Linked DNA regions of Homo sapiens: region 2 is linked to region 1. Evidence: promoter capture Hi-C in human tissues and cell types (Jung and others, 2019). All regions are on one chromosome and are shown on one strand. Each heading gives the region's core, a stretch centred on a gene start or on the middle of the fragment in contact. The rest is flanking DNA. Distances are from core to core; before and after follow the strand shown. Region 1 holds the start of ZNF248 (zinc finger protein 248). Region 2 overlaps LOC101929540 (a long non-coding RNA gene).

The links. Contacts are between HindIII fragments. The study calls those that stand out against the background at their distance.
Region 2: a contact is called between a fragment that was not itself captured here and the fragment with the promoter of ZNF248 in region 1, in 1 of the 25 tissues and cell types used here (spleen).

The regions. Positions count from the first base shown.
Region 1 is chr10:37,854,233-37,859,712 of GRCh38, reverse strand. ZNF248 (zinc finger protein 248) reads left to right here and starts at 2,103. Exons shown (of 6, transcript NM_021045.3): 1 at 2,103-2,528; 2 at 3,181-3,278; 3 at 3,376-3,417. The coding sequence starts at 3,403. ZNF248-AS1 (ZNF248 antisense RNA 1) reads right to left here and starts at 1,964. Exons shown (of 2, transcript NR_186559.1): 1 at 1,212-1,964; 2 at 1-635. RefSeq lists silencers at 1,611-2,160, 1,857-2,233 and an enhancer at 2,551-2,610. The HindIII fragment of the contact is 12,949 bases long and covers 1-5,480 here.
Region 2 is chr10:38,416,221-38,421,700 of GRCh38, reverse strand. It overlaps LOC101929540 (a long non-coding RNA gene), which reads right to left. Exons shown (of 10, transcript XR_007062122.1): 7 at 4,497-5,019. Among named protein-coding and RNA genes, the nearest start is that of LINC00999, 9.2 kb to the left of the region's middle. The HindIII fragment of the contact is 4,889 bases long and covers 736-5,480 here.

The DNA of each region.
Region 1 (5,480 bases), core at 854-3,353:
AAATGCTAATTAGGCAAAAACAGTAGGTAAAGAAATAGCCAATCATCTATTGCCTAAGAGCACAGCGGGAGGGACAATGATCGGGATAGAAACCCAGGCATTGGAGCCGGCAACAGCTACCCACTTTGGGTCCCCTCCCTTTGCATGGGAGCTGTGTTTTCATTCTATTAAATCTTGCAACTGCACTCTCTTCTGGTCCGTGTTTGTTACGGCTTGAGCTGAGCTTTCGCTCGCTGTCCACCGCTGCTGTTTGCGGCCTTCGCAGACCCGCCGCTGACTTCCATCCCTCCGGATCTGGCAGGGTGTCCGCTGTGCTCCTGATCCAGCGAGGTGCCCATTGCTGCTCCCAAGTTGGGCTAAAGGCTTGCCATTGTTCCTGCACAGCTAAGTCCCAGGTTGGTCCTAATCGAGCTGAACACTAGTCACTGGGTTCCACAGTTCTCTTCCGTGACCCACGGCTTCTAATTGAGCTATAACACTCACCACATAGCCCAAAATTCCATTCCTTGTAATCCATGAGGCCAAGAACCCCAGGTCAGAGAACATGAGGCTTGCCCCCATCTCGGAAGCAGCCCACCACCATCTTGGGAGCTCTGGGAGCAAGGACCCCCGGTGACAATATCCTTGATTGGTTGCTGGAACAGAAAAAGGGCATTAGTGGAAGAACTGCTTAAGTCTGAATAAACTCTGCAGTTCAGTTAATAGTACTTGTACCTATGTTATTTTCTTAGTTTTGATAAATATACCATGGTCATGTAAAATACTAACACTAGTGGAATCTGGGTGAAAGGCATATAGGAACTATTTTGCAACTCTTCTGTAAATCTGAAATTATGAGCAAATGAAAAGTTTAAAAAAGTGGACAATGACCCAGGAGTTGATTTTTTAAATGAAAAGTTGTAACACACGCACATGCTCATAGTGTGCTGAAAATGCCAGATGTGCACGTAAAAGAATGTACGTGTAGTGTAGTTCTGGGTAAAGTATGGTTGGTTTTGGGAAATGAGTGCGTGCTTTCTTCTTCAAATTTGTTACTCAAACGGCTTTTTTTTTTTTAAACATATAAACAATTTTATGTTTGGGTCTTGAATTGCTAGCTTCTGTTTTTCCTTATTCCAGAGAATAACCATACTGGTCACAGATTTTAGTTTTCTCTTCCAGTCTTTCAGTTAAACGTTACCATGCATGATCGTGAATGAATTCAAGCACACCTTTCCTTCTCTTGGCTTGTGTCTAACAGGCACATTGATTTGATCCACAACCTCTGGGGACACTGACAGAATCCTGGTTCCAAGCAGGAGTGGGTAACTGAGACAGTAATCTCTCAACCCACTATACAAGGCTGTTTTGCAGGAGAGCCTTATGATGACCAGCATGATATATAATTGTGAGAAATATACTGAACAATTTATGTGTCAGACACCGGTTTAAATGCTTTTACAACGTAAGCGCCTCCAATTCTCATAAAACCCCTGCTAGGTAGGCACTATCAGCCTCATTTTACAACTGAGGGTTGCGGCCAGAGCTGACAGGCACCGTCTAGCGCCGCTTCCAAGCCCCGCATCGCATCCACCAGCCTAACTCGGGCGCTCGGCCTCTCCCTCTGCGCATGTGCATCCCCGCCTCCCGCTCCAGGCGAGTCCTTCCCTGGACTCCAGTCCCTTGTGGGAAACAATCCCTCGCCTCCGGAGGCGGCGAGGAGCGGCGGGTGAGCCCCGGAGCACTGGGCGAGGGCCAGGGGGTCCCCGCGCTGCCCTGAAGGCGGGCGGGCGGCGGCTAGACCTCGGCGGTGGGGAGGGACCCCTGGCGCCTGCGGCGACGGTGGGACGAGGGCGTCTCTGTCAGAAGGGGATGAGGTCTGGCGTGGGAACGCGAGTTCCGGGGCTCCCGGGGGTCCGTATGCGTCCAGTCCCTGCGCCTGGCGCTCAGCGAAGTCCTGTAGCACGGGGTAGGCAATGCGCACTGGCCCGAAGGGGAGGGAACTGGCTGCGGGGAGGGGACAGCACGCGCGTGCGTAGCGTGTGACGTTTGTTGTGCGCGTGCGCATGGCGTTTGATGTGTGCGTGTGCGCTTTTTGTGCCCTGAGCCCGCGGGGAGGAGGCGGGGCTGCGGGGGAGAGCGACTGCGCCAGGTCCGCGACAAATGAATTAGACACAATTATCCACGGGAGACTCGGTTTTCCTCTCTGTAAATTACGGATATTAGGAATACTTGCCGCCTGGGGTTGTTTTGAGCACTTTCATTGTTTAGGTGCTGTATTTATTGGGTGTGCGTTCCCTGGGAGAGCCCGAGGGAGACGGCTCCTGCACCGGCCCCAAGGGCCTCTCTGCCCGTGGAGTGCAGGAGCGAAGGGGCTGGCCTAGCTGACCACCAGGGCCCCTGCTGGCTCTGACCGCCCTCCTATCCCAAGTAATTATTTACACGTTTCGCGTTCGCTTATGTATTATGTGTAATCATGGCACAGTATCCTGAAGCCGTCGGAGTCTGTGTGCTGGTGCAAGGTCTGGGACAAATTTAAGAAGAGAGAGGTGAGCTGGAGCTGAGGGGTGGGCGCGCAGGCTAACAGGAACGTCACCTCTGGAGAGTCTGAGGGCAGGGACGGGTGAAAGGCTCACGGCCACAGCGAAAGAAATGCTGTTATCACCCCTCCGCGAACACCGGGCACATCCAGATGAGCTGCTGAGCTTCCTCCTCTCTTGGCCTGATATCCCCGCCGGATGGTAGTGCAGTCAGGTCATACTTGGGTTATCTGTTTTGACCTTATTTGAAAGATGGAAAAACAAAATTGAGTTTGAGGAGGTGAGTAGTTCAGATCTTGTCATTCCTTAGAGGCAGAACTGAGATTAGAAGTCAAGTCTGCAGTTTCCCGAGCCACTGCTGCCCATTTTGTTACTCTATATCACAGTTTCTCATTAAAAGATCCTTTTGAGGAATTGTTAGCAAGTTAGAACAAACATTTTTAAACTTGCATTTAACATCCTATCCCTTTTTTTAGAGGTCTTTTGCATTATCTAACCTCAGGGCATTAATGGTGTTAACAGGTAAACAGATAAACAATATGGCCTCAGTTTTTTTTTTTCCCTACAAGGAATTTTGACAAACCCATAGTGTTTTTTCCTTCAGATTACTGTTAACTTGTTAAACTCATCTTTTCATGTTTTTAATTTTTCTGTGTCACAGAACCTAAATTGGTAATAAATCAATAAGAAATATTTACATTCACTCAGTGAAAAGTGTCATGTCTGAGCTCAGCATATATCGGAGCCACACATGGACACGTAAGTATCTTGTGTGTGGACCTGTATAGGCAGGTGAATCTCCGAACTGCAAGGCCGGCGAAGGCTCTCCTGACATTCTTCCTTTCTAATCCTTCAGCTCTCCTTCCTCCACTAAGAGCGGAAAATGAACAAATCCCAGGTGAGATTCTTGTTTCTTTATTCCCAGTTTGTTTAAAAATGGATTTCTGAAGTTTATAAGGGTTTATGTTTTGAAAATGGAAAAATAGAAATAGGCAAAAATTGACATTAAGGGAAATAAAACTGAAGTAGCAAATCCAAAATAGTGCAGTTGGCAAATTAGATGCAGGATTTTTAATTTTGCAGAATTATCCAAGTTATTGTAATATTATCTCTAATTGTTCTAGTAACAATTCTGAAATAAATGCAGTAAATTGTCTATAAGTATTTCTTTGTAGAAACAAAGAACACAGTTACAGAGCAGAACTCAGTGCATATGCTTTTCAGGAGAACAAACGCTGAGGTTTGATGGTCCTGTTTGATCCAGGAATAAAACCTTGACGATGTGGAGGAATGGAGGGACTGCATGTCCTCAAAACAGTTTTCCCTAACTGTTTGTGTCAGCTCGTTCTTATTTCTAGGTTGAATCACTGACAGTTCCGACTTGTTTCTGTGTTTCTCATTTATGTTTCAATCTGATGAATGCAACCTTATTCCCTCACCTAAACTCACCTGAATCAGTTCTGGCAAAGGCCACCAAATCATAGTCAAGGCTAGTGCATGTTTTTGCCTTTGCATTACTTGCCTGGTCTGCTGCATATATTGTTAACCATGGTCTTTGTTTGGAGAGTCTCCTCTGTTGGTGTCTGTAATGCCACCCTCTGAGCTGTCCTTTCCTAACTTTGATTCCCTCCCTAGTCCTCATGAAGGCATCTTTTCTTTTTGCTCCAGGCATTGCTTATGCGTGCATTTCCATCCTTAGCCTACTTAGGTTCTTCTCGGTCTGTTTTTCCTGACTGGTTTCATTTTTTTTCCTTAATAAAGTGCTTTTGAATTAATAATACATTAATGTAATAATACATTACTTTTACTTTTTTAAAAGTATAAGTGATAACAAAAGATGTACATATATATTCACACTCCCTTCCTCTGTTCATGCAGTTTCTCCAGGTAGGGTGACATTTAATCATTAAAACCGAGACATTTTCACTGAGAGTGAAAGAGGTTCTATAAATAATTATGCTGAGACAACTGGCATATATTGGGACAGTCCCAGACTTACTGGAATGTATGGTCAACCTACCAAAGATGTCTATTTTTTTTCTAGTTTTTGGTTTACTTTGCCAGTGTTTCTTTATCCAGTTTAAAGAAAATATGTATGTATATTCTTATTTGCTTCCTCAGTTTACTTAAAAAGGAATCTGTTATCTCTAGGGCTTATCAAACTTATATGTGATTGTGCATTCCTGGCATCTTTTTAACATGCAGGTTCTGATTTAGTAGCTGTGGATGGGGTCCTTTATTCTGAAGTTCTGATAAACCTCCAGCTTAAGCTGATTCTGATGGTTGACTTACACACTATTTTCCATTATTCCTTTTTCACTTAACAGCATACAGATGTTTCTCTGACAGAACATGAATAGCATTTTCTCTCTTTGTCACAATTGCCTAGTAATTCAAGTCCATAGTTCATTAAACTACTTCCAGCTGTTTGCTATGACAAACCATGTGGTAATGAATAACCTTGTACATTTATAATTTTGTGTGTATATGTTTATATATTAGATGAATTCCCAGAACTTGATCAGCTTAGTGGGAATGCCTGTCCTAGAGATAGTATTATTTTGTTTTCCCATTGGCAATGCATGGGAATGCTTATTTCTTCACAGCTCCTCCCATAGAATATGTGGTTCAACTTTTGGATTTGGGGCAACCGATAGGTAAAAAGTGGTATTTCATATAGTTTGCATCTGCGATTTTCTTCACTGAGTGAGGTTGAATACGTTTTCGTGTGTCTAAGGGTGTCTTATATTTATTTTTCTATGAACTTAACTGTTAGTATCTTTTGCCTATTTTTCTTTTGGGTTGTCTGGTCTTTTTTCCCCCCCAGTGTCTTTTACCCTTGTGTATTATATGAGTTGCAAGCCATTATTTTTTGGTATATCATTTGTCTTTTGATAATTGTTCATGGTGTTTTTCCCTATGCAGAAATATTTGGTTATTTTTGTTGTCCAGTTTATTAAT
Region 2 (5,480 bases), core at 1,931-4,430, 560 kb before region 1:
ACTCAAAATCAAAGGGAAATGAAAAGAGGCCAACATAGAATGTCATTATTCTTTCTTGGCGGGGAATGGATTCCAGAGTCATTCTGTGACCTTTACATGACCTCCTTATTAGCATCTAAAAGCTTCCAGTGTAGGATGCAGCCAGCTAGGTTCTCTTCTAATGTAATAAAATTTGCTTCAGCAAATCTTATGCAGAGCCATCTCCAGGCTCCAGAAACAATAGGCTATAAATTACTGGATCTCCCATTTGATACAATGAAGTATAAGCACAGTCCTGAATGACTCCTCTACATACTACTCTGGGTGGCTTGAAGTGAATTTGATACAAGAACTGGAGCGAGTGCAAAGCATAGCTAGATCTAGGATTAATGTGCTTGGGCCCAGCTCCTCACTACTCACCTATGAGTCTAGTTCCAGAACCCAAGTAGAGGATGGGGAAACAAGGCTCCTGACTTTTTTTCCCTAATGTCTGCATCTCTTTCACATTTCTTATCTCCTTGCAAAGAAACTAAACAGGCTCAACTGAAATAACTAAATGATTAAATCCTATACAGAGAATCTCCAAAGACTGACAAAATATCATTCAAGACCGTTACACAGACAACCTTGAGGATGACTTGATGTACCAGTGATCTACAATATTTGGGATCATTCCAAATTCCCATCAAGGATCTGCCTATATCAACAAAGGAGCCAAGGACCAACCATTCAAATGGGCCCTGCTGCCAAGCCTTTTTTTTTTTTTACAATGCCATCTCTTCATATTGTTCCATTTAACAAAACTGCAGCCCTTCATCTATCCTTAAGCCCCTTGGCCAATGGTACAGAGCCAGAGTATGCTACTCCCTAGCAAGAAATCAACAGGATGACCTACTAAACACCATTCAGAAGATGCTAAGACCCATGAATTACAACAGGAAAGAAAAGACAGAGAATTAGTCAGATAGGTACATGCTGTGCCAAAAATGCACTACAGCCCCCACCCAATTCTGCCTAATCCTAGCTGGGCTGACACCAACCTGATGAGACAGGACTATAAGATCTCAAACTAAAACAGAAACTCCTGAACTGGATTCTTTCGAGCCCAGGAAGCAGCAGTAAATCATTAAAGAACAGATACGTTCTTAAGGTGAGGGACAGTTTCAGATAAATGGAATGCTGGTAGAACACAGGGCCCAAAGGAGCAAAAGTTAACGTAAGCCCAGGTAGAACCTTATTTACTAGAGTATTAGGCATGGGTTGGGGCAACTATTCTAACCTGAGAAACTGGCTTCAGTGAGGGCAAGTTGGCAATCCAAGGTATAGCATGCATAGGGCTGGCAAAATTCAGGGTGACTGAAGCAAAAGCTTCAGAACCAGAAAGACCACATCTGAGGGTAGAGCACAAAACTCTCAAGAGATGAATCTTTGTAAGAGTGAGGCAGAACTACATAGCAGTTTTAGGAGATCTGTTGGTGCCCAGCAAGAGCTCCAAACGGGCTATATGCAGGGATGCAGGCTGTAGTCTCAGGAGAGGAGGTTCACAAAAGTCATTCAGTCCAAGACCTCAAACTGTGTTCTCTACTAAAAGGAATCAAGGTTCCCTAGAGAAATGGCTGACTCCATGTATGGTGCAGTATATTGATCCTGGAACATCTTTTTTGCCAGAAAGCAAGGAAGCCATCAAAGTCCAACAGGATCCCGTCAAAAAGACATGAAAGTCAACTTGAAGAGATAATTATTAACCTAGATGAGACAATGAAAGCATCCAAAACAATAAAGACTGTAATGGCCTGAAATACATCAAATGCAAACAATAATCTATGAGTTCATAATGGTATTCAGAAAAAAAACTACTGGTCATTAGAGGGAAGGTTACTAGGTCACTAACTTACTACTCTGAAAAGTGACTTAAGATGAGAGGTAGGGTGGAGAATTAGCTATTTATTCAGTCTTTCCTGTACAAACATAAATTTTTAGGGAGATTGAAGCAGACAAAACAAATCTGGAAAAATGGAGGTAACTGCTTAATCTGCGGGTTGGGTGCATGGAGGTTCAACATATTTCTTTTGTGTATATTTGAACCCCCTACAAAAAAAGCACAAGACAGAATGTGAGCCAAGCAGCTTAGGGTTTAGGCAAGGCTTCTGCCTACAAGAGACACTAGGATATGAGGGGTAGTTTTAGCCCTGATGGGCTGAGCCAACTGGAGGTATATAGGGAGGTGCTAAATTGCAGAGGTATCATGTTGCCCAGCACTTGATCAAATCCTAGATCCTAGGTCTGCTTGGTAGCATGCTTCCTAGGTAGTGGATCTGAGGCTACCTATAGAACTTCCTTTGCAGTCATAATTCACTCAGAAACTACAAAAGTGCTTGCTCTTGAAAACGGAGTCTTTGTCCATTTCATGCTTCTATAAAAGAATACCACAGACTGCATAATTTATAAAAAGGAAAAAAGGAAGGAAAGAAAAAAGGAAGGAAGGAGGGAAGGAGGGAAAGACGGAAGGAGGGAAGGAAAGGAAGGAAGGGAAAGAAGGAAAGGAAGGAAGGGAAAGAGAGAAAGAGGGAAGGAGGAACGGAGGGAAGGAGGGAGGGAGGGAGGGAGAGAGAGAGGGAGGAAGGGGAAGGGAAGAAAAGGGAGAAGGGAAAGGAGGAAGAAAAGGAAAGGAAAGGAATAAATTTTATTTCTTAACAGTTCTGGATGTTAGGAAGTCCAAGGTTGAGGGGCCTGCATCTGGTAAGGGTCTTCTTGCTGCATCATCCCACTACAGAAGGCAGAAGGAAAAGAGAGTGCAAGAAAGCAAGAGGGCAAAAGGGGCTGAACTCTGTTTTATAATAAGCCCACTCTGTGATTACTAATCTATTACCACAATAACAACATTAACTCATTCATGAAGGCTATTTTATTAGGCCCCACATCCCAACTGTTGCATTGAGGATTGAGTTTCCAGCACATAAACTTTGGGGGACACATTTAAACCATAGCAGAGCACTTAGGTTAATTCAACTAAGAGGAGCTGGGAAAATCAAAGGCATGAGAAAGACAGCAAAAGCTAGCAGAGAGAAATGCATAGGTTAAGGAAAAAAGTCACAGTGAATCCTGTAGTGCAGGCTACTTTATCAAAAGCACCTAAAAAAGATCTCATTAACTCCCCCAGCTCACCTCCACCCACATCTAAAGAGCCACACACAGCACCACCAAAGGCAGCACAATGAGAACAGCATTCTCCTCAACAGACAAGCTGGGAGTATCTAGACACCTGACCTCTATAGCTCCAGAACAGCCCTAAAACAGTTCCTCCCTAAGCACCACTCAAGTCACCAGCTTGGAAAGTATTAAGAAAACCCAAATCCTGACACACCACTATGAAACAACTTAAAACAGCAAAGAACAACCCATTTAAACAGCAATGCCAGCTGCTGGGAAAAAATAGAACAATGAGTAGAGGAGAAACAGGCCTCTTGGGGTCCACCAAGACCCAGTCTCTCAGCTCCAGCACTTTCAAATGCAGAATCCATACCCCTCTGGGGCCTGTGGAGCTCCACAAGGCATGTCGTTCTCAAAGATAAATGAGCAGGCAAGCTGGCTAGAAAACCACTAAGGGTATTATTCTTTAAAGAATCTTTATAGGGTCAAAGAGGAATGGGTCTTAACTGGCTATGTGAACTCCCCACAGATTCTGAGGATGATGTCAGTATCCCTTTCCAGATGTGTTTAACACTTTGCAGTCACTTGTATTCCTGCCACTGAGTGCCAGTGCTTTGCTAATTTGCTCACGCTGACCCCAGCTCCCTGGATGTTACCATTAGCCAAGACTGTCACCCATACTGTACCCTTTCAAAGAGTCCTAAAAACAGCTCTTCACCTACTCTTCCAAGACAAGTAAAAATGTCTGCCAAAGAAATGGGGAAAAAAGATTCAGAGAGTGAAAACAATTAATATACTAAGAGAGCAAAAAGCAAAGGGGGAGGAGAAACTAGGAAAATCATATATGGGCTCACACCTATTTCCAAAGCTGGGCTAATGTCCTTTTGCCTGTGTCTGAATAAGGCACCAATTTTAAGCTGCTAATGAAAAAAAAAAGAAAAAGAGAAAGAAGCAGGCCCAGGCTGGGCGCAGTGGCTCATGCCTGTAATCCCAGCACTTTGGGAGGCCGAGGCGGGTGGATCACCCAAGGTCAGGAGTTCTAGACCAGCCTGGTCAACATGGTGAAACACCATCTCTACTAAAAATACAAAAAATTAGCCAGGCATGGTGGCACATGCCTGTAAATCCAGCTACTCAGGAGGCTGAGGCAGAATTGCTTGAACCTGGAAGGCAGAGAATGTGGTGACCTGAAATCACGCCATTGCCCTCAAGCCACGGCAATGAGAAAAAAATTCAGTAAAAACAAAACAAAACAAAACCACCATAAAATAACTCAGACTTAATTAAATACAACCCTAGTGGTGAATGACTAAAGATGGATTACTCATAACAGAGATAACAGTCCAATAAGAATCCAGGAATCTTACCTTTTAATAACAAAAAAATCCTTTCCTTCGAAAGTAACATCCTCTCAAGGCCAGGAATTCCATTAGTAGAAAGCCTTCCTAAAAAACAAAATTCCTGGCCAGGCATGGGTTCACATCTGTAATCTCAGCACTCTTGGAGGCCGAGGTGGGAAGATCACTTGATGTCAGGAGTCGAGGCGGGAAGATCACTTGACGTCAGGAGTTCGAGACTGGCCCGGCCAACATGGTGAAACCCCATCTCCACTAAAAATACAAAAATTAGCCTGGTGTGGTGGTGGGCACCTGTAATCCCAGCAACTTGGGAGGCTAAGGCAAGAGAATTTCTTGAACCCAGGAGGCAGAGGTTGCAGTGACCAGCAAGGTTGCGCCATTGCACCCCAGCCTGGGCGATAAGAGTGAAAACTCCATCTCAAAAAAAAAAAAAAAATTCCTTTGGGAAGGCCTTCTACATAAAAATCTTCAACATGAGACTGGACAAAAGGGTATGGGATCATCACTGGACCTTTGGCTTTTACAGCTCGAGCTATAAGAACAAAAAGAAAAAGGGATATCAATTAAACACAGTATGTAGAAAAGAATAATTATTGAATCTGTACTGGTCTTTAACTTTTACACTTTGATCTTTAATTCTGTTATTGTGATTGAGTCCAAAGAAAAATAGTATGAGTAAAATAAAAAGAACACCAAAAATGCTAATATTCTGTTTACCAAAGTCTGTAGTGAAATATTCCATTAAATCCAAGTGCAGTGACACACCCATAATCCCAGCACTTTGGGAGGCTGAGGCGGGTGAATCTCCTGAAGTCAGGAGTTCAAGGCCAGCCTGGCCAACATGGTGAAACCCCAACTCTACTACAAATACAAAAATTAGGCAGGCATGGTGGCAGAGGCCTGTAATCCCAGCTACTTAGGATGCTGAGGCAGGGAGAATTGCTTGAACCCAGGAGGTGAGCTTGCCATGAGCTGAGATCATACCACTGCACT